7 separate regions of the Homo sapiens genome follow, and all the other regions are linked to region 3. Evidence: promoter capture Hi-C in 16 types of primary human blood cells and fetal thymus (Javierre and others, 2016). All regions are on one chromosome and are shown on one strand. Each heading gives the region's core, a stretch centred on a gene start or on the middle of the fragment in contact. The rest is flanking DNA. Distances are from core to core; before and after follow the strand shown. Region 1 overlaps JAK2 (Janus kinase 2). Region 2 overlaps JAK2 (Janus kinase 2). Region 3 holds the start of PLGRKT (plasminogen receptor with a C-terminal lysine). Region 4 overlaps JAK2 (Janus kinase 2). Region 5 overlaps JAK2 (Janus kinase 2). Region 6 has its middle 7.6 kb from the start of JAK2. Region 7 overlaps JAK2 (Janus kinase 2).

Region 1 (3,831 bases), core at 1,229-3,728, 440 kb after region 3:
TTCCAGTTACTCATCAATCAGATAGACTTATACTATCATGCACTATTTTCTTCTCTGAGTCATTCCCCAAGTCCTAAAATCCACTCCTAATGAATCTTTCCATATCAAACCTTTATAAAACCAATATATTCAATTGTTGCCTATAAAATGAGGCTGAGGGGTACAGCAAGGTTGATACAGTTTGGATGTTGTCCCCTTTAAATTTCATGTGTTGCACTGTAATCCCCAATGTTGGAGGTGAGGCCTGGTGGGAGGTGACTTGATCATGGGGGTGGATTTCTCATGAATGGTTTAGCAACATCCCCCTTGGTGCTGTCCTGAAGATACTGAGTTCTTGCAAGATTTGGCTGTTTAAAAGTGTGTGCACCTTCCCCACATTCTCTTTTGCTCCAGCTCTTGAAATGTGATATTCCTGCTCCCTCTTAGCTTTTGACCATGAGTAAAAGCTCCCGGAGGACTCCCCAGAAGCTGAGCAAATGTCAGCCCCATGCTTGTAAGCCTGCAGAACCATGAGCCAATTAAATCTCTTTTCTTTATAAATTACTCAGCCTCAGGTATTTCTTTATAGCAATGCAAGAACAGACTAACAGGCCATGCGCGGTGGCTCCAGAACCATAATCCCAGCACTTTGGGAGGCTGATGCAGAAAGATTGCTGGAGCCCAGGAGTTCAAGACCAGACTGAGTGACACGGTGAAACCCCATCTCTACAAAAAAAAATATAAAAATTAGCCAGGCCTAGTGGCACTCGCCTGCAGTGCCAGCTACTCAGGAGGCTGAGGTAGGAGGATCACTGGACCCCAGGGAAGGCAAGGCTGCAGTGAGCCGTGATCGAGCCACTGTCCTCCAGCCTGAGTGACAGTGAAACCATCTCAAAAAAAAAAAAAAAAAAAAAGAACAAACTAACAGAAGAGTAAAAGGAGAGAACTCCCACCATGAAGACTGTTCCTAATACAGTGTTACTTTTACTGACCACCATAACCAGAGGCACTGTGAATCAAACTTACTACAATGGAGGTATATTTCATTTTACTTCTAATAATTTTAAATTTTCATAATAGTAAATATAATCCAATTATCGCAGAATACTTACCTTTAAAAGTCTGTGGCAGGGAGGGGTAGGGGTGAAGGCAAGGATAATTTTTTTTTAACAAGACAGGGTCCTAAATGGTGGATTCCAGCAATATCATTACAACTGAAGATCTGATGCAATGAAAACTATATTTCACATCACCCCCGCCCCTCCTCAAAAAAACCAAAAAATCTACAATACCTCATGTATTTAAAAAAATAAATTATACATATAAATAAGAGAATCAGAATAGTATACTTCTATTTATGTATTTATTTTTATTTATTTATTTATTTATTTTTTGAGACAGAGTTTCACTCTTGTTGCCCAGGCTAGAGTGCAATGGCACGATCTCAGCTCACTGCAACCTCTGCCTCCCAGGTACAAGCGATTCTCCTGTCTCAGCCTCCCAAGTAGCTCAGATTACAGGCATGCACCACCACACCTGGCTATTTTTTTGTATTTAGTAGAGACAGGGTTTCACCATGTTAGTCAGGCTGGTGGTGAACTCCTGACCTCAGGTGATCCATATACTTCTACTTAAAAAGCTTAAAAATATTATTCTAAATTTGACCCTCTAAAATAATAAGTTGTAAAATCCAGACTTCCCTGTAATTCTGTCTTCTCTAACCTGGCCAATTAACCACAGATCTAATAATTCAATGTTAAATGAACTTATCCTTAATGGTTCCAATCTCAAATGACTTGACCTATCCTATGGATTGCCATTATGAAATGACAAGCTTCCCTCAGTAGCAAATTTGATACAAATAAAACTATACTGTGAATTTTTAACAATTTGAGGCCAAAAATAGACTAATAAGAGCAGACACATAAGTTAGCAAATGCCCATTCAGTAAGTACAAAAAATAACTTAATACTTCACAATAAAGTTTAAAAAAAAGGTAAAACTAAAATGGAAAACCAAGGTTAAATTCAAGTTTAAAATCAGAAATAGAGAATTAAATAGAATAACTAAAATGAATAATTGGCAAAAAGATCTGCTTCTATTCCTAAATGCTTGATTTATTCATTTTATTTTCAAGTACTTGAATGCCTCCCATATGCTAATAAATATTATACAGGACTTGGAAACAAATAAATAGAAATGTTCACTACCCAAGAACTCACAATATGGTTTCAGAGGAGCCATTTTTAGAATGAAACAAAGTCCAGAAATAGATCCAACTACATACACAATTTAAAACACCAGCATTTCACAGCAGCAGAGAAAAGAAGGATTATCTGACAAATAGTATTGAAACTGGACAACCATCTAGGGGAAAAAAGTTGCGTCCCATCTTATATCTTGCATCAGTATAAATTCCAGATGGAACAAGAAAACAAGGGAGAATCTCAAAATATAATTTCAGGGTTAGAAGGAACCTACCTAGATGCACAACAACAAAATCACACTATCTACAGAATCAAAAAGATAAAGAGACAACCTAGGGAAAACAACTCATTTCGCAAACTCAAAGCTATCTTCCTTAGTATAAGAGCTCCCACAAAGCAAAGTAAAAGGACCACAAATCCAATAGAAAGTGGGCCAAGATATGAGTGAAGAGTTCCCTAAAAAAGGAGAATAAAAAGCAAATTAAAATTATAATGAGATTCTATTTTTCACGTCTCAAGTTGGCAACAATCAAGTCATCTGAAAACACAATGTTAGTAAAGGTGTAGAAAAGCATAACTTGGTATTTCTATGTCAATTTGGCAATATTTGTTGAACTTAGTAACATATACCACTTTTGAATCAGCAACTCCTCTTCTACTTAATCTTTAGTTATAGTCACACACACACACACGCCCTGACAAATGTACAAAGATATTTACTACTTTTTGAATTCTAAGACATTTAAATGTGTTCAAAAAATAGATAATTTTTTTATGAAAGAATAAAAAGAGACAAATACAGACAACTCTCAGAGAGTTTTGTTCCAAAGGGGAGTGAAAAATGGGGCCATAGCTTGAAGAGATGTGGAGTCAAGTAATGATTTAAATTGGGAATTGGCAGAGCACAGTTCACACATACCAAATTTAGCCAGCTGCCTGTTATGTAAATAAAGCTTTATGAGAACACAGCCATGAGCCACGTCTGTTCATTTACGTATTGTCTATAACTGCTTTTGCACCACAAAGGCGGAATTGAGTAGGTGCAAGAGAAACAATCTTGCCCACAAAGTCTAAAATATTTTATTTATGATCCTTAATAGAAAAATCTTGCCAATCCCTGGTTTAAATCAGTAATTCTCACAATCTAGGCCCCAGATCAACATTATCAGATCACCTGGGAACTCACAGATGCAAATCCTCAAGTCCCACTCCAGAGCTAATGAAACAAACTCTGGGGGTGGGGCCCAGCGGCAATTTGTGTTTCAATAAGTCCTTTAGGTAATTCTGATAAGAACCAGTGGGTTAGGAAACAGTTCTAGTACAGTTAATCCTCACTGTCTTCAATAGGTTCTTGGAAACTGTGACTTTAAGTGAAACAATGTGTAACAAAATCCATTTTTCCATAGGCTAATTGAGATAAGGAAGTTCCTATGGCATATTTATGGCCACAAAAACATCATCAAACTTCTAAGTAAAGATTCCAAACACTCTGATTATTAAACACTGAAATAAATGTGAGCTATACACACATTTAAGAAAGACTAATAAAAACAAGTAGGATAATTATTAACCCAATTCAGTTCAGTCACGAGTGGCTAGAGCCTATCCTAGCAACTCAAGGCACAAGGTGGGAACCAACCCTAGA
Region 2 (3,679 bases), core at 295-2,794, 370 kb after region 3:
AGATCTTATGTACTACAGTTGACCCTTGAACAGCATGGGTTTGGACTGCACAGGTCCATTTATATGTGGGTTTTTTTCAATAAATCCAGTGGGCCCTCTGTACTGGCAGGGCGGGTTCTGCATCTGCAAGGAAACTCAGTTGGAAAATATAGTATTTCTGCATTCCAGCCTGGGTGACACAGCAAGTCCTGCTCTAATAAATAAATAAATAATTTTAAAAAATAATTAGTTATTTAAAAAAAGAAATACAGTGTTCATAGGATGCAAAACCCATGTATATAGAGGGCCAACTTTTCATATCCACAGGTTCCACTTAAGTATCCTCAGATTTTGGTATCCATGGGTAGTCCTGGAACCAATCCCTCATGGACACTGAGAGATGGCTGGATTTTTTTCTCAGTTTCTTCTTTATTTTTAACCCCTTGAATTTCCCTTACTTTCTTGAGAACTTGGGAGTTGCGATATAGGTCTTTGTAGATTTTTAATTTTTAATTTGAGATTTGTGAAGAATCATTTTTAAATTTCCAAAAAGAAAATTAAGATTCCATTCTTAGGATAATTAAGATAATTAATTTTGCTAACATCTAACACAAGGTTGGCATATTTTTCATAAGAAAAATATTTAAATCACAACTAAATTTGTATATAACAAAATAATTCCAATGTCACATGAATGTAAATCAAGAAAACAGATGTTGTTTTAAAAGGACAAAAAAGACAGTAATGAGTATCTAATGACTTACAAATATCAAATCTTCATTTCTGATTTTGTGAAACACCATTTGGTTCATATGAGTAGGCCTCTGTAATGTTGGTGAGGTTGGTACATCAGAAACACCATTCGTTCTGAAGACTAGAAGGTTTGATTTATCTGAAAAAATAAAATACATATATATCACTTCAAAATACACTGAAAGTATGAATTGCTCCAAAGAGGAGTAAAATGAAATGTGTTCTACGTATAAGAAATGCTTAATAACTCCTAATTGTTCTTTTTTTATAATAGAAAATTATTTTAGGGGTCAACTCATTGAACTTTGATATTTCTTCTTAGTTACTTCATACATTCAAAATTATAATCACTTCCTTAACTAATGTAATTTGGATTTTGATGTATTCCTGCCAGTTATTTCATTAATTCAAAATTATAGTAACTTCCTTAACTCATACAATTTTTCAGGAATTTTAATAATTTTTAATAGTAAGGCTCATTATTTCAAGGAATTTCCAACTTTACTGTCTTTATTTTTAAAATACAGAAATTAAAATCCTCGAAGTATATGAAAATTTTTACTTAAAACAACATAAGAATTTAGTAGTGAGATCTTCCAGTTCAATAAATGACATCATACCACACATTATGTTTAAAATCTCATTTTAGAATAATTGAACTTCAAGTCACTTCTAGACCACCAAAACCAAAGTAAACAATCTTATTTGATGATGCTTGTACAATAGAATAAGATAAAATTAACTTTTAGAGCTGCTTCTTTCATATATCCTTTGAAATCAATGTACTGAAGATACTTCACGCCACATAAACAATCCATGACCAGTAATTTAAAAATAACTAGAAAATTATCTTACCTTTTGGCTTTGGGGGACAGCATTTAGTAAACTGGAAAATTATATTGTCTGAGCGAACAGTTTCCATCTGGTAACAATTCAAAAGATCTTTAAGACTGCTGAAGTTCTTCTTTGTCCCACTGAGGTTGTACTCTTCATTCTCATTTTTTGTAATCAAACAGTGTTTATATTCAATGACATTTTCTCGCTGTATAAGTTTAATTATAAAGAAAGGGAGGGATAGTCACAATGGACATCACAGTGATTATTCTGACAAAATGATATCACAAGAACAAGCAACAGAATAAACATTTGAACCATGAATCCGATGTAGTGCCAGTATAGTGATAGAAGTACTTAGTTCCTCAAAAGGGCAATTTACAATTTCTCAGCCTACAAAAGTGGTTTAAAAGTTGATTTTATGAAAAAGCATGTAAGAAGGCAATGATAATTAATAGCAACAATACCATCCTTAATAGTTTTCCATCATTTATAAGATAAAGCCTAAAACAAATGTAGCATATAGAGCCTTCCATGAGCTGGTTTCTGCCTCCATCTCCAATCTCAGCTCCTGCCACTGCCAACATACAACCTACGTTCCAGCCATATTAAATGACTTAAATCATTTCAAGCAAATGCCATGCTGCTTCATGCCTTGATAATTCTTCATGCTATCTTTCTACCTAAGAATGTATACCCACTTCTTCTGAGCAATGAACCTTTATTCATTCATCAAAACTCAGTTCAAGTACCACTGTTTCTAAGAGGTCCTCTCTAATGCTCACCTCTTTGCACAAGCAAAGGTGAACATACAGCCATTCCACTGCACCACCATTGTATTTGTATAATTATCTTTAATATTACATTTTTAATATTTTGCAGTTTTTAAATATTTGTCTTATGCACTATATTATGAACTTGTTCACCTATTTTTAAGGTGCATTTTATAAACATATTCATTCTACTCAGAAACATTTATATAAAATCTACCAATACCTCAAGGTCAATCAGGTTCTTCCTATGCCAAATAACCTTTCTTGTTTTTTTTTTTTTTTGTTGTTGTTTTTTTTTGAGACCGTGTCTCGCTCTGTCGCCAGGCTGGAGTGCAGTGGCACAATCTTGACTCACTGCAACCTCCACCTCCCGGGTTCAAGCGCTTCTCCTACCTCAGCCTCCCGAGTAGCTGGGACTACAGGTGCGCACCACCATGCCCAGCTAATTTTTGTAATTTTGGTAGAGACAGGGTTTCACCATTTCACCACATTGGCCAGGATGGTCTCAATCTCTTGACCTCGTGATCCACCCGCCTTGGCCTCCTAAAGTGCTGGTATTACAGGTGTGAGCCACCACACCTGGCTGCCCTTTCTTAATAATTGTAAACCTGTCTGTTACTGTCTATATTTGCCTATGCTAGATAATTACAATGTTCGATTTAGAATTTTTTGTATATTTGAAAATTTTTGTTTGTCCAGTAGATAAGTTTCCTGAAGGTAGGGCTGTAGCATAAACTCTATAATACATAGCTCTCATATTAGGCTTGGCACATACAGTGAACATAAAATATATATATATATTTTTTTGAATTCATACTTGAATATAATGTACTATTATCTGTTATAGTAACAGGATACTTTGAAATTAGGATAGATTACCAGTTTTACACAAAGGTAAAGTGATGGCATAACCTCCCTTCTGTAAGTAATCTACCCTCTACATATGCCAAATATAAGTTGCATTTTATAAAAATTAAAATAATTGAATAACAAAGTTCTTATTTTTCTCTGTTTTAAAAAAGCAAGATAAATTTGCAAGCTTCTATAGTTTCTTAGGATTTATACCATGAAATTGCCTCATAAGTGATAGTATATAATCATAGATGAGATCCAAAATGATCTGTATTAACAGTGGGGTTTCATTGCAGTTTTACCGTTGAAACATGCATTGTAGACCACTATTCTTAAAAATATTAGAAAATCATCAGTTAAAAGTGCTTTAATGTTTCTATTTGTTTGTTATTGACCTAGTTTTCTCTAATTCTGTTTCCTCTAATTCTGCAACCACTGTTAATAAACAGAAAATTTGCTTCCGATTTATTTTGTTCTACATGATGTGG
Region 3 (4,091 bases), core at 990-3,489:
TGGAGAGCTACTATAATTCCTGCCTCTAGAGCTTGTTGCAAGGCTAAAATTAATAATCATAGCTTCCTACTCATTTACTTATGTATGTTTCCCCTGCCCTATGCCAACACCTAGGTAGATCAGGATTTTTTTATCTGGTATGCTTCAACACTTTAATTTCTTCATGATCTGAAATTTCTGCATTACTTCAGTTATCTGATAATCATTATTATGGCACACGGCAGTATTAAGAAGTGCCCAGTGAATCTCCAGGTGTCATGCATAGTTCTTCTTGCCCTCAATATATAGATGTAACCCAATTTCCTTTTGGTATTTGGGATGAATCATACCATTCTGTCACTGTGAGGAATCAAAGTGACCAGAGGGCAGTTTCAGCTTTCGAATCAATGAATTGAAATTCAATTCAATTCAGTGACGGGGTCTTCTAGTGGCAGCATTCCTTCCTTTGGATCTAGGCTTCCAAACACAATAAACCCAAGGTTGTAGAAATGGTGTGCTGGAATACTATGCAGCCATAAAAAATGATGAGTTCATGTCCTTTGTAGGGACGTGGATGAAGCTGGAAACCATCATTCTCAGCAAACTATCGCAAGGACAAAAAACCAAACACCGCATGTTCTCACTCATAGGTGGGAATTGAACAATGAGAACACTTGGACACAGGAAGGGGGACATCACACACCGGGGCCTGTTGTGGGGTGGGGGGAGGGGGGAGGGATAGCATTAGGAGATACACCTAATGTAAATGACAACTTAATGGGTGCAACACACCAACACGGCACATGTATACATAGGTAACAAACCTGCACGTTGTGCACATGTACCCTAGAGCTTAAAGTGTAAAAACAAACAAAAAAAAGAAATGGTGTGCTGGATATTTTCTATTTCTCCCTCCAGGCATTGTGCCTAGTAGGCTGACCTCTACAGACTACACAGACCTAGCTCCACTGTCTTCTGGCTTCCTGGTGGATCCAGCCAGCGGAAGACCCCAGCTGGATATCAGAGCTGGGAGAACAGAGAGGTGGGTCTTCTCCACTCTGTCCCTGCTTTGGGCTGACGTCTCAGCACTGGCTACAACTATAGAATCTCACCTTACTTGGTGAAAAGTTGGCATTGCTTGCTTTCCTCTACTGAACGACACGGTTCCAGTTGGTTACTCTCTCGTACAGCCACAGCTACCGCTCTCGCTCTCGCCTGGTTTTAGTAACTGCTTCCTTCCCCCACCCCTCAGCCCTATAGTTACTAACAGCTCCCCGCTGTTACTGGTTACTACTGGTTACGGAAGGCGAACTATGTGCCCGACACTGTGCTAAATGCCCACATATATTATCTTTTAGTCCTCACAATCCAATAAATTAGATGGCTTTAGTCCTGTTGCAGAGGTGATAAATTCAGAGTGACAGTGACAGAGCTAGAAATTGAAGGTAGGTGTGTTTATGCTAGAGTCTGTGCACTCAAACACGATTCCTTACTTCTTGCATCAGTTGTTAACCTCCCTTCAAGAGTGTCAAACCTCCTGGTAACCCGCCCATTCCCTTAACTGGAAATGAGGGTGCTGTTGCAATTTTCTCATCCAGCCATTCCACAAATGGTATCTGGAATGTGGGACCCACAGTCCAGAATCCTGAGGGCTGCTGTTGAGAGCATCAAGACGCGCCCAGGAGGTCAGGGCGGTGTGCACTCACACGCTGAGCCTGGAGAAAGTTAGACGCCTTCTCCACCGCTGTGGTGGTTAGCAGGGACTTTCCTGAAGGCCAGAGACTGGTGACGTTCATGCTATTTTTCCAAGCCATTTGGTAGCAAAGAACAGAGTGCCAACAATTCAAGCATTCTCTCAGGCTGGGAGAGAGACGTGGCTTATTCAAGATAGAAATTGCTGGTGAGGTTGAGGCGAGACCGACATCTCTCTGAGCAGCAGGGGAGAAAGACGGCTCTGTTCAAAAAAGAATGGGTAATTTCAGTCAATTCTCTTCTTTCTCGTTTCTGTCTTATCTTTATGACTTTTTAATAGTGCCAATTTAACAGATGAGGGGACAGAGGCCTTTAATTGAGAATTCCACTCCGCTTCCTCTGCCTCATCTCAAAAATCTGGCAGCTGAGTCGCCGCGGCTTTGAATTTGCCTCTTTTGACCTTCCCCTCCCACCTCTGGTAACACTGAGCCTGGCCCGGAAGGACACACCCGGCTTCTGGCGGAAGTGCCGGCTCTTTAAAGAAGCTGAGGGCTGCGCGAATTGGCTGAGGTGCGTCATCTACTGTGTCTGGGCGCCAATCCCGACGCTGGGCGGAGCGAGGCCCGGTCCCTGCAGCGGGCGAAAGGAGCCCGGGCCTGGAGGTTTGCGTACCGGTCGCCTGGTCCCGGCACCAGCGCCGCCCAGTGAGTGAACACCGGCCGCAGGCGGGTGGGGAGAAGGGTCAGCCCGGCCATGTCAGTCAGCGCGATCTCCTGGGCTCCGGGCTTGCCAGGCAGCGCTGGGCGCCCGCTCCTCGTGAGCGCCGGCTCTTGGCTCTCGCACTGCCCCTGGTGCTGATAGGTATTGCCAACTTCGTTCCATTAGAGCGCGTTCTTGTCGCCTGGCGTGGACTCCGGATCTCTCCGTAGCTTTAAAATAGAGTTGAGAAAAACAGGCACAGTGCTCTCAACAGAAATCAGCACACTATTGCGGGGAATACCTAAATTACAGTAACTGGCCTCAGGGAGCAAGGGCGGTGTTAATTACAGAAAACCTCCGGAAGCTGTGGGCTCTGGGCTGGAATTTGCAAGGGGATGTGGCTTAATTTCAATGGGATGCAAATATTGAAAATGACTGTGGTGAGACGATCAGTCATACATTCAGGCAATGTGTCATCTGATCGGGAAATAAGTCAGCGTGGTAATCCCGATGACAGAATTCATGCAATTAATTTTTTATGTCCCCCCAAGTAAAATCAAATCTAGGTACTCACGGGTGACCGGAAGAAAGGTTGTCTGGAACTTGCAGGCACCACTTCTCCTCCCCAGAAATACACCTTCCCATAGTAATCTATAGCTCACCTGAGGCAGGGCTGAAGCATTAAAGACCCCTTCCAAGATCTCAGAAGGAATCAAAGGGAAAATGAAGACAGAGGGATTGAAATCAGCATTCTCTGCAAAACATCACTCTGAGACACAGTGATGTTTAAAATTGTATAAGTAGCAAGACATTTTTTTTTACCCCTGGTGAAAAGTGTTAGAATTTTTAAAAGACTTAACTTATACAAGTGAGTGAAATCAAAGTTATCCCTATTGCAAGGTCAATTTTGCTTATTTTCTGATACATATTTTGTGAGCAAGAGGAGATAGCTGAAAGTGTTCTGGACACCCTACGGAATATTCCCAGACTTTGGGAAATGACTTTGCCAGGAATGGGGAAGTTGGGAAAGGAAAGAATGTTGAAAATACTGAACTCCAGGGTGAAATTTACAAGGTGTGATGCATTTATTTATTCTCAGGTGTGGTTTCCCATAAGGAAGCTCTTCTTCCTGCTTGGCTTCCACCTTTAACCCTTCCACCTGGGAGCGTCCTCTAACACATTCAGACTACAAGTCCAGACCCAGGAGAGCAAGGCCCAGAAAGAGGTAAATCTAAATACTAACTTCCCAGACAGTGTTTCTTTCCCAGATGATTGACATGAGGACTCTCTCTTTTCAGGGGAGATCCTAACCCCTTACAAACAGGAGCACTTGAAAGCACACAGCTCTGTGATATACAGGGTATGTGGAGGAATAGTACTAGAGTACAGTTGTTTTCTTTATAAATGTTTGCAGCAGGTGTAAAAATTTAGTCATCCACTCCTATGTTCAGAAGAAAAATAAGTAATGGCAAGTGGCCTGAGCCACAGTTTTTCTTGTATCTCTCATGCTTTGTGCAAATATTTAGGGGAAGTAGACACCATGGAGACTATCAAGATGGATAATATCTCGCTCCTAACCTCAGGCAGGTTCTGGTCTGCTGTTAGAGATGAGTCGCATGGGACTGTTAGGGTTTGGAGAAAGGAAAGAACTGCCAAATCACCCTGCTGTCAGTGAGTGGCCTCTAACTCTGGTCACAGGGTGCTCGAGTGGCACAGTGGCA
Region 4 (3,695 bases), core at 492-2,991, 390 kb after region 3:
GCTGTTGAATGAATGAATGTGTTTTTTTTTTCCTTTGGGCTTTGGAATCTTCTAGATTTCTGAGTTCCTAAAATTATACCCTATGGCCTACACCCTTAGGTTAAGACCTAACAGACATCTGAAAGTAAAACAAGAATATTTAAAACCAAAGAGAGAAATACAGAAATTGATACTCTGCAAATTGGGTATGTAACTGTTTTGATGACATGGCAAAGAAATGACTGAAGCCAGTTATTGGGAGAACAATTTCAAAAAAGGAAGCTTTAACCACACTCATGATGTACTCAAATTTTTAATCTGGGAAGTATGTAATATATAAAATACATATTTGCCTTCAAACTTAAACCATTCTTATATATACCTTTTTAAAAAGCAGTTTTATATTAGCCATGATTGTCAAGTTCAATATGCAGAAGAATAATTTGAAGAATGCAGAGTTTGGACCATTTGTATAAGAATACCCTAGAGCATCTGTAAAAATTCATATTTGTGGGCTTCAACTCAGATTTACTGAATCCAAATCTCTTGGATTAGGACCCAGAAATCTTTGATTTTAACAGGCTCCCCCACGTGAGTCTAATGCAAATAAAATATACACCACCATTTGGGAAATACTTATTCAGGTCATTTATATAGCCAACTGGAGGATCTTCTATCAAAAAGTATGCCTCCAGGTGTTTCTTCTGTTCCTCTGAACTTCCCTAGCCTTCTCAGAATAAATGAAATCAAATAATAGATATTTAATACCTATGATATTTCCTGTAGTACAACTCTTTAAATAATTTCACCTTACAAAGTGTGTTTTACTCCCAAGATATAAAACTTACCCATATGATTTTTTATTATAGGTTGACTATCCCTCTTGCAAATATCTGAAATACGAAATGTTCCAAAATCCAGAACTTTTTGAACGTCAACATGATGTTCAAAGGAAATGCTCATTAGAGCATTTTGGATTAGGGGTGCTCAACTGGTAAGTTCAATGCCAATATTCCAAAATCTGGAAATATCCAAAATCTGAAGCATTTCTGATTCCAAGCATTTTAGATAAGGAGTACTTAACTAGTATTACAAAATCAAAAGGCATGGGTAAACACAGAAAATATATACGAATTATATAAAATCTCTACTCACACTTATGTGTAAGGATTTGCAAAAGAAAATTACCTGATAGAGTTATAGATGGCCAGTGGGGTTTGATCGTTTTCTTTGGCTATTCTCATCATATCTAACACTGCCATCCCAAGACATTCTTCCTGTGTTTCATGAGTCACAGGTACTTTTATCCATCCGTGCACAAAATCATGCCGCCACTAAAACCAAAAATTTGAAGGAAATATCTCATCGTAAGTTTCATTATCATGTTTTAATCTATGATTATATTTTAATCATAATTTTCAGAACATATGCATTTACAAGATACAAATTGGCCAGGCTCAGTGGCTCATGCCTGTAATCCCAGAACTTTGGGAGGCCAAGGCATGAAGATCACTTGAGCCCAGGAGTTTGAGACCAGCCTGGGCAACATGGCAAGATCTCATCTCCACAAAAAATTTAAAAATTATCCAGGCATGGTGGCACATACCTGCAGTCCCAGCTACTTGGGGGGCTGAGGTAGGAGGATCTCTTCAGCTATGATCACACCACTGCACCCTAGTCTGGGTAACAGACCAAGACCCAGTCTCTAAAATGATTAATAAATAAATAAATGGCATAAATTCCTCCTTTAATTTTCATTCATTTTGCGATACAATTTTAATAAAAGTTCATTTGCAAATGGAAACTGATTTACACTGGGTTCCCAATTACAGAGTACATATAACATCAACCTATTTCATTAAATATATCTTCAAATTATATCTTCTACATAAAAATTACCTAAATTAAAGTAGATATTACTGAGTTAAATATATACTGAACTCCAATTATGTTGGAAGTATCATACTACAAGTGGTGTTGGATACAAAGAAATAGCCATGTGCCCCATAACAATGTTTTGGTCAATGGCAGACCACATATATAACGATGGTTCCATAAGATTGTAATACTGCATTTTTACTGTATCTTTTTTATGTTTAGATATGTTTAACTACACAAATACTTACCGTTGTGTTACAAGTGCCTACAATATTCAGTACAGCAACATGCTATATAAGTTTGTAGCCTAGAGCAATAATAGGCTATACCATACAGACTAGGCATATACTAGGCTATAACATATAGGTTTGTATAAGTACAATACATGATATTCACAGAACAATAAAATTGCCTAACGACATATTTCTCAGAATATATCCCCATAAGTAAGTGACACATGACTGTATAAGATGTGGTCTCAGTCATCAAGGGGACCAAAATTTAGCTTAGAAGCGAAACAGAAGCAAATAATTATAACACCAGACATGATATAGGAAGCACCACACAAAAGCTCCTTCAGGAACTTGGAGAAAGTTAAGATTATATTCAGCTGGAGTAATCAAGGAGGGTTTCATGGAAGATTTGAAACTTCACAGTGTGTTTAAAAATAAAGAAATGTATGATGGACACAAAACAGGGTAAAGAAATAGAAGGAATGACACACACACAAAAGCACCAGATATGTTCAGATGCATAAACTAATTTGATTAGGGCCTGAAGTTTATGTGAAGAAATAATGTGGATTAAAACTTAGAAAAGTAAGTTGGGGTCCGACTGCAGGTACCCTTGAATGACCTGATCCTAGAAACTATGGAGATCTGTTTTCATCATGTCTCTTCCATTGGCAGAGTAGTAGCAATGATAGAAGTGCTTGAAGAAAATAAAGTGTATTTACGGAGGCTCTTTAAGAGGCTGGTGTATGGCTCAGATACGAAATAATAAGGATCTGATCCAGGAAACAGAAGATACTAAAAGATTCTGAAAAAAGGCTGATAACTTTATTAACTATATATTGTCTAAAGAATGAAGAAGAGAGAAACACAGAGGTTCTACGATTTTGACCTGGAGGATTTAGGAATACAGATAAATCTGACTGAACATGTAATGGGAGAAAGAAAAAGAAAGCAGAAGTACAAATATTCTAAACATAATACCAATTTTCTTTGTAGAAAAAAAGGTAAGAGCCATATTACCTAAAATAACAATGCGAATCAAGGTTTTAAACCGGACAAGGGCCCTCTATACTCTACATCTGTATTTCTCTTCTCTTGATGTAATAACTTGTCTCATGAAATTAAAGCTTTACTGGAACCTTTTTAAACTAATTTTATTAAAAGAAACATATTTAAAAGTATATTTGCTTTTCTATTAATAAAATATAGAAGATATTTTCATATAAGAAAATAAACTATTAAGAACCACACCATCAAATAATCAGTATCACCCAAAACAAAGGCCTAAACGTTGCTAATACAAAATTAATTCAGGGTAGGAGACAGATTTTTGCTCAATTTTAAACACTTATTTCACCACACTTTTGAGAACAGGCAAGTAAGTTATACTGTTTAAGTAGAAGATGATCAATGACTTGGTAGATTCTTTTTAATAGCCTGCCTTGGTTCCCTATAGAACTAGTAGATGGGCTGGGTGCAGTGGCTCACACCTGTAATCCCAGCACTTTAGAAGGCCAAGGCAGGCAGATGACAAGGTCAGGAGTTCGAGACCAGCCTGGCCAACATAGTGAAACCCCATCTCTACTAAAAATACAAAAAATTAGC
Region 5 (4,049 bases), core at 368-2,867, 350 kb after region 3:
CGAATGCACTAATTTTAACATTGGAAACATAAATGTACACTAAGAAAAATTTTTAAATACAGTCATGTCATTGCAATAATATTCTTATAAATAAATATTTGTGTACATCTCTATTAAGGATACTTAATTAGCTGTTCAAAAGATAAGAACATTTCAAAGGGACTTGATACACACTGCATTAGAAGCTGTCTGGCAGTGGTTACCATTTGATGTTCCAATAAGCAGTGGGAAAATGTATATTTTATCACATCCCTGCCAACAATGATCATTATACTTTTTCTAAATCCTTGTCACTTTGATAGGCAAAAATCAGTCTCACTTTTAATTCGGAATGCCTCTATTTTTCTTATGGAAGAAGGAGATGAAGAAAAATACAGCGAAAAGAAAGATTTAAGATAGAAAACCAGAAGGGTTTGAGATAGGACCAGGAAAGAAATCAAGTAAGGGAGTGATATGGTTTGGCATTGTCCTCACCCAAATCTCATCTTGAATTGTAAACCCCATAATCCCCACATGTCATTGGAAGGACCTGGTGGGAGGCAACTGAATCATGCGGGTGGTTTCCTCCATGCTGTTCTCGTGATAGTTCTCATGAGATCTGATGGTTTTGTAAGCATCTGGCATTTCTCCTGCTGGCACTCATTCTCTCTCCTGCTGCCCTGTGAAGAGGTGCCTTCTGCCATGACTGTAAGTTTCCTGAGGCCTCCCCAGCCATGGGTAACTGTCAGTCAATTAAACCTCTTTCCTTTATAAATTACCCAGTCTCGGGTATGTCTTTATTTGCAGCGTGAGAACAGACTAATACAACCAGTAAGAGTCATAAGTGCCTAACCAATGTTGGAAACCAATTTTCAATGAAAACAATAAAGATTTATATCTGATTTTTTTCTTTTAGTGTTTGAGGGATGGAAGCACAATTTAAAAATGCTAAGTTGTATTGTTCCCGTACTAGGAAATAATAGGGAAAGTGAAGCAGATAATCAAGGGAAGGGGGGGTGATATAATTGTGGATACCAGCGAAAGTAGTTTAAAAGATATGAACATTTAAACGCGCTTGATACAAACTGCTCTATGAGAAGCTCTCTAGAAAGGGTCACCAATTTACGTTCCAATAAGAAGAAAGTGTGAAAGACACTAGCAATACCAAAGATATCAAAAAGAAGGCATTTATGTTGAAAAAAGCCAAAGGCTATAAAGTTATAGTCAGACAGGGAGATTTCAGGGTAGGAAATTTTCTAAGTAAGGTTATTACATGGGATTATAGAGTTCAAAGGAACTCATTTAACATAATCATAACTTTGGGGTAGAGAAGCCAAGGAATTTTTTTTTTAAGTATTGGAAGGGCATCCAAAATAATGGCAGGAGGTAAGGTGATGAGAAAACAATGAGTACTAAAAGTATTCAAGGAATGTGGACCAAGATGTTAGCTAATGATGGGAAGAGAGGAAAATAAGAATCATATTCAGAGAAGATTGAGAATGATGCTGATAATTTCAAAGTAGTCGCACTAAGATCCTGATCTCTGAATCCCATATCTGCACCATGGAGGAAAAAGGAATAAAGAGGATTTCAAAACCGCTAGGAGTGAAGCGAGAAGGTAAAGGATATAAAGAATATAAGAGGTTTCAGGCTCCAGGTCCTGGCAGGAGGATCGCGGGCCAGAGGCGGAGCCACCATCCTACCGCGACTTTCAGACTCCGACCGTGGCCTCGCGCTGGTGGCGGGGGCGGCGCGGCTGTTGCTGGAGACCGGCGGCGTGGAGACCGCTCCCCGAGCCTTGCGGGGCCGCCGGGGCCGCGCGCCGCTGCCGATGCCCGCGCAGGCTCATAGGCAGAAGGGACTTGACTTGTCTCAGATACCCTATTTTAATCTTGTGAAGCATTTAACACCTGCCTGTCCAAATGTATATAGTATATCACAGTTTCATCACACAACCCCGTACAGCAAAACACACAGTGGTGAGAAATACACCGATCCTTTCAAACTCGGTTGGAGAGACTTGAAAGGTCTGTATGAGGGTATTAGAAAGGAACCGCTCATATCAACAACAGAACTTAAGGAAATCTCTGAGTACTACTTTGATGTAAAAGGAAAAGCCTTTCGATCAATTATTGTGGTACTAATGGCCCGAGCATGTAATATTCATCATAATAACTCCCGACATGTGCAAGCTAGCCAGCGCGCCACAGCCTTAATTGCAGAAATGATCCACACTGCTAGTCTTGTTCACGATGACGTTATTGATAATGCACGTTCTCGAAAAGGAAAACACACAAGATCTGGGGTGAAAAGAAGGCTGTCCTTGCTGGAGATTTAATTCTTTCTGTAGTATCTATAGGTGGGGCACAAACTGGAAATACAGCTGTTATATCTATTTTAACCCGAGTTATTGAAGATTTGGTGTGTGGTGAATTTCTTCAGCTCGGGTCAAAAGAAAATGAGCATGAGAGATTTGCACAATACCTTGAAAAGACCTTCAAGAATACTGCGAGCCTGATAGCCAACAGTTGTAAAGCAGTCTCTGTTCTAGGATGCCCCGACCCAGTGGTGCATGAGATCACCTATCAGTACGGAAAAAATGTAGGAATAGCTTTTCAGCTAATAGATGATGTATTCGACTTCACCTCATGTTCTAACATAGGCAAACCAACATCAGCTGATGTGAATCTCAGGTTAGCCACTGGTCCTGTCCTATTTGCCTGTCAGCAGTTCCCAGAAATGAATGCTATGATCATGAGATGGTTCAGTTTGCCGGGAGATGTAGACAGAGCTCCACAGTATGTATTACAGAGTGATGGTGTAAAACAAACAACCTACCTTGCCCAGCAGTACTGCCATGAAGCAATAAGAGAGAGCAGTAAACTTCTCATCCCCAGAAAGAGACGCCCTCATTCAACTTTCAGAAATTGTACTCACAAGACATAAATGACAACTCTTTCTGTTCTTTCTGGCAGCTATCTCAGACTGTGCCTAAGAATTTTGTGGAATACACTTTGTTTGCTTCATGTGCAGATAACCAAAAATCATTTTAAAAGATATCAAACTTATTGATGGGCAATTTGTTTTATTGCAAAAGTTTTTTCAGAAAACTTTTTAAATGTAATTAAACCATCTGAATCTGTCATTCTAGTCCTATAAATTCTAATTGAGGTGTCTTGATGGTTATATGTGGTACTGTTTACACTGTTAATATCCACATGTAAGGCTATTACACAAATAATCCATGTTAAAATTAATTTAAAAAAGAATATAAGTATATGTGGGCATGAGGATAAAGGAAGAAAGCAAAAAACACTCTAGATTTCAAATAGCAAAAGAAAAGATTTCACAATAGTTTCTTGGCTCCTTTTACAACAGTATGAAAATATTTTTTAAAAAATAAAAAAATATACCATTATTTCTCTTGGCTTAAAACATATGAAAATAATTTTAAATATATATCCCTCTTTGGAATATTTTCACCATACCACTAATTGAAAAGGATAACAAAGGGATACAGTAGCTAATTTTTATAAAATGGAAAGGTGACATGCAATCATTTTTGTAGGAATGGCATTTTGATTGTTTCAGTAAGGCAGTACAAATATCTAGACAAACCACTGAACACATCAATTACTTCAAACAAACAAAGATGAAAGTAAAATTATGGTGTTAAATACAGATAGGAAATATCCACATTAAAATATCTATGACTGACTAATGATTACACCATTTACCTTTCATTTCCTACAAACTAAATTACTAAGAAATATATTTCATTGTACATGTATTTTGAAAACGCCTTCCTTAGAGTCTCTTCAATTTACTTATGTTTAAAAGAATTTTAAGCTCACGGAACTATGGAAAACACTAAAAATGTTAAAAAGCAAAAGAACATTAACTCAAAATTACAATAAAGGGGAATGTTGTAAATAAATTATGGTATATTCACTTAAAATTATGTCTCAAAAGAATATTAATAATGGGAAAATCTTGATATATGAAAAATAGCAAGATATAGAATTGTATATATAGAATGGTTTCACTATTGAAAGAAATTGTGTAGTTGT
Region 6 (4,088 bases), core at 1,469-3,968, 460 kb after region 3:
TTGAGGCTGTACCTCTTTATCTCTATGTCATGAGAGTTGATCAGAGGGAAAGCAGGTGTTTTCCTTCTAGAAAAGGCAGCTGGTATTAAGGGAGCGCCCTTATTAGGGTGGTCTTACTTTATCCACATACTTAGGTTTCCCATCCACATCTAACAGTGTCCCCCACTGAACATGATATAGCTGTCCATTTGGAGGGGAAAAACAGTTCTTTGCTTTCTCCTTTTGTGTAATGGTGCTTTGTTATGTTTACTGTCATCTCCACCTGTTATAGATCAAGCATAAAATGATGTCACAGTGCTAAGGCAAGCTCTTTTGGCTGAGCAGTCTAATCCTACAAGAATTTTAGTATCATGTGCTTTCCACTCAGATGCTAATTCAGCTCTTTTACTACTCACAGGAAATATTCTGGGACTCAATAGCATTACAAGTAATAAAATTTTAGTAACAGTGATGACTTTGGAGGTTTTTGAAAACAAATGCGTATTACCAGAATAGATATGTTTTAAGGCTCATGAAAACTTACTGTTGTACATATTAATGTCTATTATATTTATTAAAGGGCTTTTAAGTATATTTGTTGAGCAAACTACTTTTTTTCATTTTTAATTTCACAAGTAAACATAAATACATAGCAATTGTGGAAAATCCAAACAACATAGAAGAAAAAATGTACAAAGTGGAAATTTCTCTTGACCCTCTTCTCCCAGCCCTCTTCAATTTCCAGAGGCCACCATTAATAACTATCTGAGATTTACTCTTTCAAACTTTTTCCAATGCATTTTCTTACATATCTCCTATAGATATAGTTTTGAGCTTGGTAAATAAATAAAATGGGTTATTCTACACATGTTTTTCTGTTAACATTTTTTTCACTTAGAATACCTTGGAGATACTTCATGTCAATATGTATTGCTTTTCTCATTCATTTTAACTCTTATACTGTGTCAGTAAAACAGGTGCTAATAATTTATTAAATAATTTATTTATGAACATTTAGGTTTCTAATTTCTCCAGTTACACAGTGTTAAATTTGAAGGCATTGAACATGCATTTCATGGGCAAAAATGTATTTCCTGGGATAGACACTTAGACTCTCTGTACCAAAGGAAATACAAATTTAAAATTTGTTGACTACTGTCAAATCAACTTCCAGAAGTTCCACAGTAGTATATCAATGCTCATTTCTCTATAATCTCACTAACTCAATATTATGAATCTTTAATTTTAGGTAATTTTAGTTCCAAAACACACTCATCCCAGTCGTTTGACCAGTATTTATTAAACGCCTGTTATGTAACGGTACTCTGTAAATGTTAGAAACTCACTAGTGTGTTACACAACCACTCTTTTACCCATCGTTGCCTCCATTTTTGCCTTGATTACATTTTAAAGTAGACACAATAATATTGACTATAAAATTCATCAACCATACTGATCAAGTAATTATCCAATTATCTTCAAATATGCTTTTGAATCGTACAGATTTCCTGAACCATTTTTCTTACAGGAGGAAATGATTCCTTTGGGAAAATGCTGGAAAAATACAAAGACCAGAGATTGTTACTAGCTGGGAGATTTTAATCTGTTACTCAATTTTTCTAAACTTCTGTTTTCTAGTCTCTACAATGAGAATAATAGGGGCACTTGCATTTAGGATTGATTTGAGGTTATAATGAGATAACATGTAGAAAACACTCAACAAATTCCTGATAACAATAATAGGTAACATCACAGTTCATACAACATATCAGGCATCTTCAAGAGTTTTATATGTATCAAATCATTTGAGCCTCACCACAAGGCTATGAGGTGGTTACTTGCATTATCCTCATCTCAAAAGAAAGTGAGGAACAAAAGGTTAAATGTCTTTCAAGTGTCTCTCAGAAATCCTGCTGGGCTAAGACTGAACCCCAAAGGGCCTGGCTGCACAGCTAACTCCTCTAACAATCACACTCTACTATCTCCTGAATAGACAAGCAAGTAATAAATATTATTTCCTTTACTCTTCTTGCTTATAGCTGAGCCTATCCCAAGTATACACCCCAACCCACAGAATTTTAAACGTGGTGATGGAAGATGATTCATTAAATTCATAAGCTTCATATTAATATATAGGCAATCAGGTAACAATATTTATGTATAATATATAGCAAAGGCTTCTATCCATGGATAGATTTCTTATTTGCTGGAATGGCTCCCAGATGCTATACTGTAGAGGAGTGGCTCTCAAAATGTGGTCCATGGACAGGCAGCATCAGCATTACCTGGGAACACGTTAGAAATGTACATTTTTGAGCCCCAACCCAGACTTTCTGTATCAGAAACTCTGGAAGTAGGGTCCAGCCATTTGTGTTTTAACAGGCCTTCCAGACAATTCTGAGGCACACTAAAGTTCAAGAACCACTGTTGTAGAGAATCCTTGTAATGGGTAAAGTAAAAGAAAATAAATAAGCCAAAGAACTTAGGTTGCCTTTCATAACAGGTGATATGGTGGGGAGGGGTTAGGGAATAAAATATAAGTGAGGCACAGATGCAGTACCTTGACTTGAAGAATGAACAAAAAGAAGAGATCTTTCTTTCAAGTTGCTTCAGTATGTAGATGGGAATAAGAAGTGGATGGCAATAGAGAATTTTAAAACATTTTGCTTTAACTTATAAAGTGGACCTACTTTCATTCCCTTTATATAAAACCTTAAATTTTTTCTTCAAGTATTCTTGATTATAACGCTTGTGTTTTTAAGGCATTTACTGTATATGCCAGACCACATGGGAGCCCCAGTTTTATCAGGGCTACACTAAGTTGCAGTGCAACAAATTTAAGTCAAATAGCACTGAGTACACTTATTACAAATCAATCAAATTCTAAAATCACAAATGTTGCTGCTGAAAGACCTTACAAATCATAGAGATAATTGATTAGATACAATCATCAGATATAAATACATGTACAACAAGTTATGGAGTGTGCAGAGATGAGGCAGCCCAAGAAATATACCTATTTGTTACCTGGTAGGGTAGGCAGAGGAAGAGTGTATTCTATAAGAATCCAAAGAAACCCTTGTAGACCATGAGGGCAGAACTATATTTGTTTTATTCCCTATTGTATATCCAGTATCAATGCAAGTTTGACACATAGTATATGTTAAATAAGTGCCATTGTATAAATGAATTAATGAATAAGAACAATAGCAGGACAAAATGAGGATCAGTGGCCAAATCCTCCGTATTAATAATACCCCTAAGCTATCAGGAAACAGGTTAGCACTTAACTCCCTGGGCAGAGGTCTCGCTATAGAAAAAATTCACCTTAAGGGAAGAACTTGAGGTGCAGAAGCTTAGCCTGGATAAAATGACTGGGTATTAGGAGGTGTGATGACTGATAATTGGTATTTAATACCAGAGGTTATGTCAGTTTGGGTTTGAAATGAAATTCAGGCTATTTCTGTACTTTATTTTCTGTAAAATAGAGATAATAATACTTACCTAATAGGGTATAAAACCAAATAATAAATACCAACATAAGACGGTATTGCTCAGGATAGCCTTCCAGCCTAGCCATCCACCACCTTCCAGCAGCGAGAAGAGGAATGGGGAGAGAGGGCTATAATTAAGAGCATACCAAATAAAATACAGATATATCCAGAAACTTTATAAGAAAATAAGAGCTCAAGACAGGGCTGTTTGTGGCTCAGTTATAGAATGCAAACAGGAAGGCACTCGACTGGGAGACCTTGGTCTGAAGTTGTAGAAGGCCAGAGTTGGTGTTTCAGGGAAGCCGACATGCATAATTACAAGAGATATGGCAGTAATCACAGCTGCAGCCAGGAATCAGAACAGTGACTCTCCCTGGCCCCTCTCCCACGTTCTCACATCCCCGTGGCTCACTTCATCACCTCCTTAGGTGAGATGCAATTACAATTGAAATTTCAATGCCTCTCCATCCTCAACCTACACCAAACACTTAATTAGTTTATTTCCATTGCACTTATTACCACTTCACATACAATATATTTCATTTATTTATTTGTCTGTTTCTTTCAAGGAGAGGTGAGTTCCAGGTCTATTTTATTCATTACCATATATACCTA
Region 7 (3,732 bases), core at 1,153-3,652, 310 kb after region 3:
CACCTGCTTATAATGCTGGCCAGCGATATAAATGAACAAGGACACAAAGGTACTTATTCAATTATCTGAACATCTTAATTTGTTTGTATAGTGAAGTAATTAATTATAGATTAACTATGGAAAAATTAGAAAACAGTATTAATGAACACCAGCCCTCATGTGTGTAAAACATCACACAAGATGCCAAGGTATTATACATCCACTGTGGTAAAAACTATACATACATATTCTGTGCATCTTTAACATTGCAAAATTTACATAATAATTTTTTCAGGTCTCAAAAAGCTGAGTTGAAAAAGTCTATTTTTTTTCTTTTGCCAGACAAGAGTGATGTTAACTGACAATGTTTAAGAAACTTCTTACAAAATCCTTGCTAAGGAATTCTCATTAATGTCTTTTACTGGTGGCCTCATGAAGAAAAACTTACTAAACTTTGAAAGTTTTGAGCAGATATTTTCACATCTTTGCTGGCTAGCATCATGATTTATATAATAATGATATATGTAATAATAGTCCACAGCAATGTGAAATATAAAACTTTGTTCTGTAAATCTACTTTGGTCTCAGAATGAAGGTCATTTCTTTCATCCAGCCATGTTATCCCTTATTTGATCCACTCGAAGAGCTAGATCCCTAAAGGAGGGGCGTTGATTTACATTATTGTTCCAGCATTCTGTCATGATCATATAGATCTGTAAAGGAGAAAATAAACCAAAATTAAATGAACACTAAGGGCCATCTTTTAATTGGTGGAAGACATTAATTTTCAATACAGGGCACATGTCATAACCATGCCTTGTTCCACAGTCATCTGATTATGCTGTTTATCTGGAAGCTCCGCACATTAAATTTCAGGAAGTGAACTGAAGTCCTTGAGTAAAAAGTAAAAGAAAATGCATGACTACCCTGGATTAAAAAAAAATTGTTACCTCATCTGGGCATCCATCTGGTCTTGGTAATCTTCCATTATTCTTCAAAAGTTCTATCAAATGGAACACGATCATCTGTCCTTGTTTGTCATTGCCAATCATACGCATAAATTCCTAAAACAAACCCACTTTCAATATTTTTTGTACATTTAATTTGTAGCAAAATTCTTTCTCAATTTCCTCCAGTCAATGGGAAAAAATTTAGTATATGTGTGCTTTTGTATGTTTTCAAACCTTTTCAAAACAAACTACTTTTAGGATCAAAAACATAAGGCTGTTAAATATGGAACTTCTATAATTTCCATTTCCATAGCTGTAATAAACTCAACACAAATCCCCTGAGGAGGGCTCAAAACACATGAACTAAAAACATATTTCCTTTGAGTTTTTTGTTGTTAAAAAACTCATATTTTTATCATATTACATTTCAATTGAAATAAAAAGTTGAATATAAAAGAGAATATAAGAAAAAATGAATGAATAAGCATAAATACAACAAAGAAAACTTTCATATGTCAAAGTTTATAAAATTAAAATCTGAATTATAAGCTAGGAAAATACTTAAACATCATTTACTTATTTTCAATATAGACAGCTCTTATAAATTGGGAAAAAAAATTACAAATATAAAGATAGGCAAAGCACAGAAGAGATAATTCACATATATACATACCCACCCTAAACACCCAACAAATATATAGTCAACCACATTAAGAAAAGAAATGGAAATTAAAATATATATAACTTCTCCCCTATCAACTTGGCAAAAGTACATAAAAATATAATAACCAATAGTGGCAAATGATGAAATGTACATCCCTATGCATTGCTGTTGAGATATAATTTGGCACAGCTTTTCTAGAAAGCATTTTGAAATTAAAAAAATTTTAAAATAGTTCATAACTTTTACTTATACTTTTATTCTAAGATAATTATCAGAGATAAATATAAATATTTATGCATGAGGATGTTCACTATGTTCACTGAAGTGTTACTTAAAAGACTGAAGAATGGAAAATGATTGTTCAGACATATATAGCCTTATGATGGAATGCTACTCAGCAATTAGAAAACATATTTGCAGTACATTTTTCTAATACAGTAAATTACCCATGCTGTAATACTTCATGAAACAGAAGGAGAGCAAACTGCACAGTATGACCTTAATTTTATAAAATAATATATATTTATATAAGTGAACTTTTATAAAAGTTATAAAAGTTTTATATACTTCTTTGTATATACTTTTATACACAAAATGAAGCCTGAAAGGTAACATACCACAATATTGAGGTGGTCTTCTCTGAGTAATTGCATTAGAGATGATTTTTATTTTTTCATACTTTTCCATATTAAAAAAAATTCTATGATGACCAAGAGAAAAATTACTTTGGAAGGTTTATTTTAACTTATGCAATAATTCCTAGAATGAATTAGCTTACTGGATTTAATAAAAGTAATATTAAGAGACTGTACTAACTAGCTTCCCAATATCCCCTTTTTAAAAATTCAAGCTAGTTTAGGAATAGGTTTGGGATTATTTTGTTTGATATTGCCTTAAAAATAAGCAATAAAAGCTCTAAAGTGAGTCCTAGGCTTACTATTCTTTGGATAAATCCTTTCTCATGTTAAAAAAAAACTTGAATGTATGTTCTTGTTGATTTTGTCAAAGATCAGTTGGCTATAAATTTGTGGCTTTATTTCTGGGTTTTCTATTCTGTTCCATTGATCTATGTGTTTGTTTTTTATATGAGTACCATGCTGCTTTGGTTACTGTAGCCTTATAATATAATTTGAGGTCAAGTAATGTGATGCTTCCAGCTTTGTTCTTTTTGCTTAGAATCGCTTTTGCTATTAGGGCTCTTTTTGGTTCCCTATGAATTTTAGGATTGTTTTTTCTAATTCTGTGAACAAATGACATTGGTATTTTGATAGGAACTGCATTGAATCTGCAGATTGCTTTGCGCAGTATGGGAAAGGACACCCTTTTCAATAAATGGTGCTGGTAAATTGGATTGCCATATGCAGAAGAATGAAACTGGACCCATATTTATCACCATATAGAAAAATTAACTCGATCGATTACAGACTTAAATGTAAGATCTGAAACTAGAAAAATACTAGAAAAAAAACCTAGAGAAAACTTTAATGGAAATGAGTGTAAACAAAGAATTCATGGCAAAGACCTCAAAAGCATAGGCAACAAAACCAAAAATAGACAAATGAGACTTTATTAAGCTAAAAAATTTCAGCATAGCAAAATCAATAATCAACAGAATGAACAGAAAACCTGCATAATCGGAGAAAATATTTGCAAACTTTGTATCTGACAAGGAACTACCATCCAGAATTTATAAGGAACTCAAGCAATTCAACCAAAACCCCCTAATAATCGTGTTAAAAAGTGGACAAAGGAGATCAATAGACATTTTCAAAAGAAGACACCCAAACTGACAAGAGGCATATGAAAAAATGCTAATCACTAATCACCAGAGAAATGCAAATTAAAATCACAATGAGATATGCCTTATTCCAGTCAGAATGACAAAAAAAAAAAAGAGAAAAAATTACCCCAGTGAGATATGTCTGACTCCAGTCAGAATGGAAAAAAAAATGAGAGAGAGAAAAAATAACAGATGTTGGCAAGGGTGTGGAGAAAAGGGAACTCTTATACACTGTTGGTGAGAATGTGCATTTGTACAACCTCTATGGAAAACATTATAAAGATTTCTCAGAGACCTAAATATAGAACTACCATTCGATCCAGCATTCCCACTATGGGGTATCTACCTAAAGGACAAGA

Evidence for each region. The method cuts DNA at HindIII sites, captures the fragments that hold promoters and counts their contacts. A CHiCAGO score of 5 or more calls a contact.
Region 1: a fragment that was not itself captured here is called in contact with the fragment with the promoter of PLGRKT in region 3 in 5 of 17 cell types (megakaryocytes, erythroblasts, neutrophils and 2 more); the score reaches 10.6 in megakaryocytes.
Region 2: a fragment that was not itself captured here is called in contact with the fragment with the promoter of PLGRKT in region 3 in 1 of 17 cell types (megakaryocytes); the score reaches 6.7 in megakaryocytes.
Region 4: a fragment that was not itself captured here is called in contact with the fragment with the promoter of PLGRKT in region 3 in 1 of 17 cell types (megakaryocytes); the score reaches 6.8 in megakaryocytes.
Region 5: a contact is called between a fragment that was not itself captured here and the fragment with the promoter of PLGRKT in region 3, in 1 of 17 cell types (megakaryocytes). The highest score is 7.8, in megakaryocytes.
Region 6: a fragment that was not itself captured here is called in contact with the fragment with the promoter of PLGRKT in region 3 in 1 of 17 cell types (neutrophils); the score reaches 6.8 in neutrophils.
Region 7: a contact is called between a fragment that was not itself captured here and the fragment with the promoter of PLGRKT in region 3, in 1 of 17 cell types (megakaryocytes). The highest score is 5.9, in megakaryocytes.

The regions. Positions count from the first base shown.
Region 1 is chr9:4,993,991-4,997,821 of GRCh38, reverse strand. The region is part of intron 2 of JAK2 (Janus kinase 2); the gene reads right to left. It also overlaps a transcript of INSL6 not described here. Among named protein-coding and RNA genes, the nearest start is that of JAK2, 11 kb to the right of the region's middle. The HindIII fragment of the contact is 1,326 bases long and covers 1,816-3,141 here.
Region 2 is chr9:5,067,117-5,070,795 of GRCh38, reverse strand. JAK2 (Janus kinase 2) reads right to left here. Exons shown (of 25, transcript NM_004972.4): 11 at 1,588-1,774; 12 at 744-871. It also overlaps a transcript of INSL6 not described here. Among named protein-coding and RNA genes, the nearest start is that of JAK2, 84 kb to the right of the region's middle. The HindIII fragment of the contact is 3,673 bases long and covers 1-3,380 here.
Region 3 is chr9:5,436,073-5,440,163 of GRCh38, reverse strand. It overlaps PLGRKT (plasminogen receptor with a C-terminal lysine), which reads left to right and starts at 2,239. Exons shown (of 6, transcript NM_018465.4): 1 at 2,239-2,375; 2 at 3,470-3,595. RefSeq lists enhancers at 873-1,032, 2,593-2,682, 1,738-2,937. The HindIII fragment of the contact is 16,310 bases long and covers 1-4,091 here.
Region 4 is chr9:5,048,304-5,051,998 of GRCh38, reverse strand. It overlaps JAK2 (Janus kinase 2), which reads right to left. Exons shown (of 25, transcript NM_004972.4): 6 at 1,168-1,313. It also overlaps a transcript of INSL6 not described here. Among named protein-coding and RNA genes, the nearest start is that of JAK2, 65 kb to the right of the region's middle. The HindIII fragment of the contact is 2,956 bases long and covers 264-3,219 here.
Region 5 is chr9:5,083,875-5,087,923 of GRCh38, reverse strand. All of the region lies in intron 19 of JAK2 (Janus kinase 2), which reads right to left. It also overlaps a transcript of INSL6 not described here and the pseudogene PDSS1P1. Among named protein-coding and RNA genes, the nearest start is that of INSL6, 100 kb to the left of the region's middle. The HindIII fragment of the contact is 5,863 bases long and covers 1-4,049 here.
Region 6 is chr9:4,975,635-4,979,722 of GRCh38, reverse strand. No RefSeq gene overlaps it. Among named protein-coding and RNA genes, the nearest start is that of JAK2, 7.6 kb to the left of the region's middle. The HindIII fragment of the contact is 1,237 bases long and covers 2,100-3,336 here.
Region 7 is chr9:5,123,644-5,127,375 of GRCh38, reverse strand. It overlaps JAK2 (Janus kinase 2), which reads right to left. Exons shown (of 25, transcript NM_004972.4): 24 at 930-1,043; 25 at 1-692. The coding sequence ends at 585. It also overlaps a transcript of INSL6 not described here. Among named protein-coding and RNA genes, the nearest start is that of INSL6, 60 kb to the left of the region's middle. The HindIII fragment of the contact is 5,045 bases long and covers 1-3,732 here.